Regions from separate parts of the Homo sapiens genome. Here region 1 is linked to region 2. Evidence: promoter capture Hi-C in 16 types of primary human blood cells and fetal thymus (Javierre and others, 2016). All regions are on one chromosome and are shown on one strand. Each heading gives the region's core, a stretch centred on a gene start or on the middle of the fragment in contact. The rest is flanking DNA. Distances are from core to core; before and after follow the strand shown.

Region 1 (4,465 bases), core at 1,762-4,261, 870 kb after region 2:
ATTTAATTGTGGTTTTAATTTGCATTTTTAAATAACTAACAGAATTGTTTATTATTTCATTTCTTATTTGCCATAAAGGTATATTTTATTTGGTGAAGTATCTATTCAAATCTTTTGACTATATTTAATAAGCAAATTGTTTCTCTTTTATTGAGTTTGGGGAGGATATAAATTAATGATATATTTTTAAATTTTCTGTTTATCATTGGTTTTTACAATTGGATTATAGGCTTGGTTTGGTGGATGACACCTGGAATTTCAGTGCTTTGGGAGGCTGAGGAGGCAGGATCACCTGGGGCCAGGAGTTCAAGATCAGTCTGGACAACACAGTGAGACTGGGTTTATACAAAAAAATTTTAAAATTAGCCAGGTGTGGTAGCATATCTATGTAGTCCTAGCTACTTAGTAGGCTGAAGTGGGAGAATTACTTGAGCCCAGGAGTTTGAGGCAGCAGTGAGCTATGGTTGTGCCACTGAACTTTAGCCTGGGTGACAGAGAGAAAAAAAAAAAAGGGTGACTCAAAAAAAAAATTTTTAATTAAAAAACCCAATTAATTGGATTATGATGAACTGTGTTTGTTATAATTGTCTTCATGTTTCTTGAATTTGGGGTTCATTGTGATTCTTGGATCTGTGAGTTTACTGTTTTCATCAAATTTGAAAATTTTCAAACTTACTTTCTTCAATATTTTTTCTGTCTCTCTCCTTGCTTTGGCCACTTACTTACAAGCATGTTAGACCACTTGAAATTGTCTCATATCTATATAGTCCATTCATTTTTTTAAAAAATATTATCCTTTATTTTTGTGTTTTATCTTGATGGTTTTTATTTTCATGTCAACATGTTTACCAATATTTACATCTGCAATGTTGCATTTGTCATTAATCCCATCCAATATATCATTCCCCTCACACATTTTAGTTTTCCTTTCTAGAAATTCCATTTTTGTCTTTCTTATAAATTCCATTTCTATACTTAATATTTGAACATATATAATAGTTATATAACTGTTTTATGTCTTTATTTGCTAATTGTAATGTCTAAGTCAGTTGTGGTTTTCAGTTGATATTTCCTCTCATTATAAATCATATTTTTGTACTATCTTGCCAGTTTATAATATTTTATTGAATTCCTGACATTGCAAACTTTACTTTGTTGGATGTTAAATGTTTTTGGATTCCTATAGATATTCTTGAGCTTTGTTCTTGATACATGAGTAATTTATTTGGATACTGTTGGAGCTTCCTTTTAAGGTTTGTTATGCGTGACTGGAAAGGTGTTTTAGCTTAATTATTTCCTACTATTGAAGACAGGTCAGTGTGCTTTACCCAGTGTTCCATGAAACATGAGATTTTTCCAGTTTGGCCGGTGGGAATGGGTGATATGTCCAGCCTTGAGTCACTTCTAGGCAATGTCACTTTTAGTCTATTTAGTCAGTTTTTTCCTCTGTCCTTGGGTGGTCTCCTCATACATGGGCACTCAGTAGCACTCTGCTAAAGACATGGAGGGGCTTGCTGTTGACCTCTGGAGTTCTCTCTCTGTGAAGCCCTCTCTTCTCCAGCAGACTATCCCACATACTCTCAGCTCTGTCTCTTCAACTCAGAGAATTGGCCCGGCTCTGCCTAGATTCTGCATCCCTATACTATGTCCTGAAACACTCTTGAAGGCAATAAGATAGGGAAATAACAGGGCTCACATCATTTTCCCCTGTCTCTCAGAGATCATTGTCCTACATTGCTTGATGCTAGTGTTTTGATAACTTTTGTTTCATATATTTTGTCAATTTGTTTATTTTTCAGGTTGGGTGAAGTGTATGTCCCTAAGTGCATTCATTTTTCTTCTAAATGATAACTTCGTAAGTCTCAGAATTCTAAATAATGAATAAAATATTCCCATAGCAACTGTTACGTCTAACCAACCATGTAGACCCAAATCTTCCTTTGTAAAATACTTCACATAAGAAAACCTCAAAACAAAAACAAAACAAAAAAAATGATGGCTTCAACCAGAATTGTTTTTTGTTGTTGTTGTTAAGGAGCATTGCTTTGAATAAATATTTCTCACTTTATCTTTTGAAAAATTGCCTTTTAAAATTAATATTTTAATACTATTCTTGAGTAGCTATGTTTATTAAAGCACTAGATATTAATTTTGATTTTTCATTGCCAACTTAAAGCTGTTCTCAATAGACTATAGAGATAAATTCAGAAACTATTGGTTTTACATTTTATTCTTTTTTGAAATTTAGGATACTTCTCTGCAAACTTAATTTTAGAAAAATATTTGAATATTTTTTAAAAGCACAGTAAAGCAATGGCAATATTTTCTAATAACACATAATTTTTGTGTGGAGAAAACTTACTAACTTATAAACCTTCAAATCAGTTGCTTAGACTATACCTGCAGGTAAAATGAGCTATTTGGCCTGAATTGACTGCTTGGTTGTTCAAAATCCCTGAAAATTCAGTTAAATTGGTTGGATCATTACATAGTATGAAACTGGCAGATTGCTTATTCAAAAATGGTTGAATTGGCTGTATGTGGAGCTATAACATGAATCTGGAATAGTAGTCTCATGCTGGGTGCTAAGGGTACTAGAAAGAACTAAGAAAACATTTGTGAATATTTTTTATCCCATAATTATGCTGTTTTTCATCAAAGGACTTTGAAGTTACAATAGTATTAATCTCCTTAAATCTAAGGTGTGTATGTCATTAGAGAAATGATGCTGGGTACTTGCAAATTGTCCATGGCATGTATTATAGACATAATAGTAAATGAGAGGAAATCACAGCGAGAACTTAGAATTATCCCATTTACACAATAAATAGAACACCTGTTATAACTAAATTAAACACACACCAGCAAGAAACTGGCCCAATCTTTACCCAAGGACCACTGAAAAGCTTAAACAGAAACCTCAAATGGCATTCAATAAATAGATTAGTATATTCATGCTAGATTTACAAGGTATACCTCAGCACTTCTTGTCACTGAAAAGTCAGTAAGCGTTACAGTTACCAATAGACCTGCTTAAAACTTCTTCCTAAAAGTAAGAACGGAGGTTTTTGCTTAGGATGTTATTTGGGGGATTAAGAGATTTAGACAAAGCTTAACTGGGAAGAATAGTATAGTTTCTTTGAAATCTTGTAGTTTAAAGCTGAGTTGACAATTGCACATTCACTAGTTTAGTTTCTTTCCTAACTCTGAATGATTTTGCTAAGAAAGAAGAATGCAGGCCGGACTGAGCATTAGAAAAGAAATATCATGATATAAAATGAGGGCTGAGGTAAAGGTGAGGGTAAATGACTATCCAAATGTGATATCTCATAGATCCAATTAACTTTAGAGTTAGAAAATAGTGAAACAGCCAGCTCATATTCCCTAATTTTGCAGATATTCTAGGAAGTGAAGCGACTTCACATGAACACAGGATAAAAGTCCACCCAAACAGACTGATTGTTAGCAGTTCTCAAAGACTTACCAGGTAGATCACCAAATTTGTGGACACTGATAGTTCCCCTTCCCTGAGGTTCAACAGGGTTTCTAAAGGTGAGGGAGGCTGGCTGTCGCTGGCAGCACGCAGTGCTTCTTTCTGCCTCTACATAGTGTGGCTGGCACTCTTTCTATCTTCCAAGGGACTTCGCTGAGAAAGCTCCACTGCTTCCCATCACTGTAGATCTAATGTTTCAGAGAAACATAAAGTGACTGATGCTTCCAAAATAAATTCTTGATTTCTTAGACTGGGGAAGGGAACTTAGGGGCATGGTTGAGAGCACTGACTTAGGTGTGAATCACACTGATTGTTTTGTGAAATTGTATGAGCTATTTCACTTCTCCAAGGCTTACTTTCCTTATGTGAATAAATACAATAATTGTTCCAGTTTCATAATACTGAGAAGGAATAATCACATGTAAGATGCTTAACCCAGTATCTGTCAAAAAATATTATCCGTTGTCACAATAAAATAGCATTGCTCATCTCCTATGTTTCTTTACCTGGAAGAGCATTGTTGTCTGGTAGACCCTTATTTTACTCTAGATTCACAATGGGGGGAAATGACATTTTTATAGATTACAAAGTTATTGAGGCAGCCGTGGAAAAAATTGTCACACATCAAGTGTGAAGTATTGTAAACACATCATAATGAAATCAACACCATATTATTACAAACTTCTCTTTCATATTTATCTGGGGTCACAGGTTTCTCAAAGGACTGTGGGCTTGAAAATATAGTGTCAATGGAGCTTCAATGCCAGTCTAATGGTGATGGCAATGACCCATAAGATTCTGGAGTTGGGACTGGGTGTGGTGGCTCATGCCTGTAATACCAGCACTTTGAGAGGCCAAGCTAGGCGGGAGTTTGAGACCTGAGGTCAGGAGTTCGAGACCAGCCTGGCCAACATGCTGATACCCCATATCTACTAAAAATACAAAAATTAGCCAGGCGTGGTGGCTCGCACC
Region 2 (4,130 bases), core at 131-2,630:
CCAACCTTATCAATAGACTTCTGGTGTCTTACTATTGGCTAAGAAGACATTTCAATTTACTGAATGTTTCCTGGGTGAAACTAAGATATTGTATCAATTAGTAAAAAATCTAAATTAGGATTAGCATAATTAGTTATGCAATGAAAATTTTAAGAACAACAACAAAAAATCCCTGATCTAGCATCAGTTTTTAAAAAGTACTCATTTTTTTCCTATACCTAATGTCAGTGGCAGAAAATGCTGAGAAATTGGGATATTGCTTTCCAAAGATCTTTTTCTTCTTAAAACAATTACATCAAAAGTTATAGCTAGGGATAAATGATTGTGACACAGATTTCCAAGTTACTGCCAAATACAGGGTTTTATAAAATTAAAAAGAAAGCTGGATCATTTAAGAAAAGTAATTTATTTCTGGCTTTGACTTTTTCCCGGAACAAACATAAAAAATGTACGATTTTCCTTCTCGGTATTAACAAAATATTTTCCAAATCCACTGCATGCACTGCATTCCTTTATCAGGATCTTATTCAGTTTGTGACTCTGCTGGAAACTGATATCTTAGAATTAATCTGATACGTGCTTTTACCTAGTTTTCTCTTGTTTAATGCTTAAATTACGTATATTAACATTCATTTTAATTATTTTAGGCTTTCTGGAACATGCTACCACACTACAAATATAAAGTTTCAGGTCATTTTTAAAATTTCTTTTTCTCTCTTTAAAAAAAATTCTAACTTTTTGAGGCATTCATAGCTTAAAAAAGTTTCCAAGTTGGGGATCTGTTTTTTTATCTAATGCCAGTCAAATGGACATTTAAGGAAAAACTGCATTTCTAAGGTACACCACAGAGTGTGAAAGATAGTTAATCAGACTGCCTTAACAGCTTTTGATTGTTGTTTAAAATGCAGGCACAGCCTTTTTGAAAATCAAGAACGTTTGCCCTGCACTCAGGTTCTGAAGCCCCAGAGTTACAGAGGGTCATGAGGGTTAAGAGAGAAACAGAGACTCGTCCATGAAGGCTGACAGTTCTGTTTTTCCACTTGCGAGGGCTCAGCGACAGGGGCAGCCGGCCACGGTCTGCCTTCCTCTAAGTAACAACGTTAATGAGTTATAACTGTATGCAGACTTACTGTGATGGCCTGGAGTCTTCCCTTCACCAGCTCAGCTTCTTCCATTCTAGAAGTCAAGGACAGTCAGACGGGGAAGCAAGTCCAAAGCTACCATAAATCAAGGAGCCTCCTGGGGGAGAGGAGCGGGGGTGACAGAAGAGAAGCAGGGAGAAATCCGCTCTTTGCACCAGTGGAGAAATAGAGAAATTCCCGACTTGTCAGGAGCGTCTCCGAGCAGATGCACAGATCAGGCCAGACAGACACATGTAATGAGGGTGTGCTGGGGAGGCAGACGCTGAGGCTGCTGGCATGAGTTGACTGACAAGTTTGAACGGCAGCGGCACAAGCCCTTTTCCTTCAGGAGCTGCCAGCTCTTTGTTGTAATGTGCACAGTTAGCAAGGCACATTTTCTTATTAACTGTTCCTTACCCAATTCATTATTTTCCAGGAGTGGCACAGAGAGCCAACACACTGAGTGTTTAATCAGCCTCTGCTCTAGCAACACACAGCCATCCCCGGATGTGTTGGTCTGTGTGTGTTTGTACAAAGCTCGTTTACCTGCTTGCTAGCTCTAGGGGAGAGAGCCTTACCTTGACTGAGGCAGAAGTGCCAAGTCACTTGTTTGCCTTTCTTCCACTGATTGGATTTGATAATAATACAACAATCTATAGCTACTTTAAACTTCATGTAGTGGTAAATTTACATTGGTTCGTTCTCCCCCGTCTACACCCCACCCCCGACCCCCCTGCTCAGCACTTTGTTGCAAACTTTGGAATCTTTAGGTCATGGAGAAATCAAAGGTGTTAATGTGACTATATTAAGAAGTTGGCCCACCAAGGTATTTAGTGTGGCTTAAGCACCAAGTGCCACCTTTTGTTATTGCTTGACTTGGATTTCTATGGAATGCAGTTTTCTTTCTTGGACGCTGTTCAGAAATGACACTCTTGGCTTTCAGGAAGGTGCCCATTTTGACCTCACCGGTTACGCAAGAGAGAGGAGTGAGCCTTTGAAAATGTGATGAGACATTTGGTAACTGCCTGGAGCCCGGCACTGTGTGAATATTCGCCCATCCTTTAGAAAAAGGCAGGCAAGCCCAGTGAGACTCTTAGGTCAAAGCAGAGGCTGGGAAGCTGTACAATTGGCTCTGTCTGTTTTCTTTTCCCTACAGGTTCTTTAATTAAATTTTGCTGAAGTAAATCCTAATTACCAACTACCTTATTATTATGTGTTTGAATGCTATTAAGCGCTTTCATATCAACATTCAGCTGAAGAGGTTAAAAGGACAACCCAAACATTGAACATATGGTTTAATTTCCTTTGCAGTTTTGATATTAGTAATAATAATAGCTAATATTTGTTGCATTCTTTCTACAGGTAAATGCATACTTGCAAAGTGCTGAGAGATAAGTGCTATAATCCCTACTTTAAAAATGAGGGAACAGGCTCAGAGAGGTAATTTGCCATATAGCTAGTAAGTAGCAAAGCCAGGATTGGAACACCAGCTGCCTGACTTTATAAGTGGCATTCATCAAGGACTGCCCAAGGACACGGGGCAAGGAGAGGCACAGGCTGAAGGTTAAGTCAGTCTTTATGAGAAGTGGTTGGACCCCCAGCCTCCTTCTCTGTCTAGCTCCTAGAACACTACAGCTGGGTGTAACAGCCTAAGGCAGAACGGTGTGGGAATGTCCTCTGGAGAAACTTATTGGCCCTACTGAGGTTTCCCCACATTGTTGACTGGAGTTCCCCAACCACAGAGCCCTCATTCTGTCAGTCACTATAAGGTGAAACCCATGTTTTAAGAGTCTGAAATTATACTTGAGAGTAGTTTGTCCTTGCTCATACACCCTCAGAAGGGATACTTAGGGAGACCAGAGAATGGGAGGATTGTTTGGATGTGTGCCAAGTTTGATTACTGTTGGAAACATATTTAAGTGTAAAAAAAATCAAACCTTCAAGACTTCTGATTATGTTTATTTGTAGATCCTGGCTGAAATTAAAGACAAGAAAGCAGTAATGATAAATATCTCAGTCAGAATTGCATATTTGGTGCCTAGAACAAATGGGCAGTCATCCAATTATTAGTCTGGATCTTTTCCTAAAAACAATTTACCTCTCAAATCTCATTTCTGCTAGAGGAAAACCCAAGATTTTGCTAGTGTAGGGGAGGACAAGATTTAAAAAAAGAGGATGGGAATTTAGGAGGGAGCAGAGTTGCAACAACTGATTGGTATCATCATGTGAGTGGTAGGCAGAAAAGGCTGGAGCTGGGAAAATCTGGGGGACCTGAGTGGAATCCTGGAGCCAGAGCTCTGATGGTCTTGACAATCTCCCTTGGACTGCAATACAGATTAGGATGTTTCCACTCAACTTCGCCTCCCTTTCTCTTTCACCTGCCTCTTAGACATGTCCAGCTCCAGCCTTTTCTGCCTGTCCTCCCATGTTCTCTCATACAGTCATTTCTCCTAATAAAATTCTGTACATTTAACCCATCTTGGCATTTGTTTCTTATAGGATCCAGAATAACATCATCATTTCCACATCTACTGTATTTTGTTTACTTAATCTTTTATTGTCTACCAGAATGTAAGTTCCAGGAGAGGAGAAATTTTGTTCAGACACCTAACACAGTGCCTGACACATCAGAGGTTCTCAATAAATATGTGCAGAATGAATAACAAATGCTTAAAAAATTAACAAGTATTAGTATTGTCAACTAAATGAATGAATAAACACATGATGAGACACATCAGTTGTCAGCAACCAAAGTAGTCCAGTGTTTCTCAGGAATTTTAGCATTCTTGCCATGCTCAGTCACTGGCTGGGAGTAGCCCCTGGGAAGCATAGCCTTGAAGCAAACATAGGAATGGATTTCAGAGTGAAACAGCTTGGGACTCTTGGGTCAATTATGCTCCTGGAGTTCAATGTCTGAGAGGCACTTTCTCATCAGCCATAGTGATAAATGCTATGGAAAGAAAATAGAGCAGGGAGGAGAATAAAGATGGCTAAGGCAGGGAATGTTGC

What was found. The method cuts DNA at HindIII sites, captures the fragments that hold promoters and counts their contacts. A CHiCAGO score of 5 or more calls a contact.
Region 1: a fragment that was not itself captured here is called in contact with the fragment with the promoter of PALMD in region 2 in 6 of 17 cell types (naive CD8 T cells, naive CD4 T cells, total CD4 T cells and 3 more); the score reaches 7.6 in naive CD8 T cells.

What each region holds. Positions count from the first base shown.
Region 1 is chr1:98,778,959-98,783,423 of GRCh38, reverse strand. No RefSeq gene overlaps it. Among named protein-coding and RNA genes, the nearest start is that of SNX7, 120 kb to the right of the region's middle. RefSeq lists an enhancer at 1-39. The HindIII fragment of the contact is 205 bases long and covers 2,909-3,113 here.
Region 2 is chr1:99,643,363-99,647,492 of GRCh38, reverse strand. It overlaps PALMD (palmdelphin), which reads right to left and starts at 1,380. Exons shown (of 8, transcript NM_017734.5): 1 at 1,131-1,380. The coding sequence starts at 1,175. The HindIII fragment of the contact is 18,161 bases long and covers 1-4,130 here.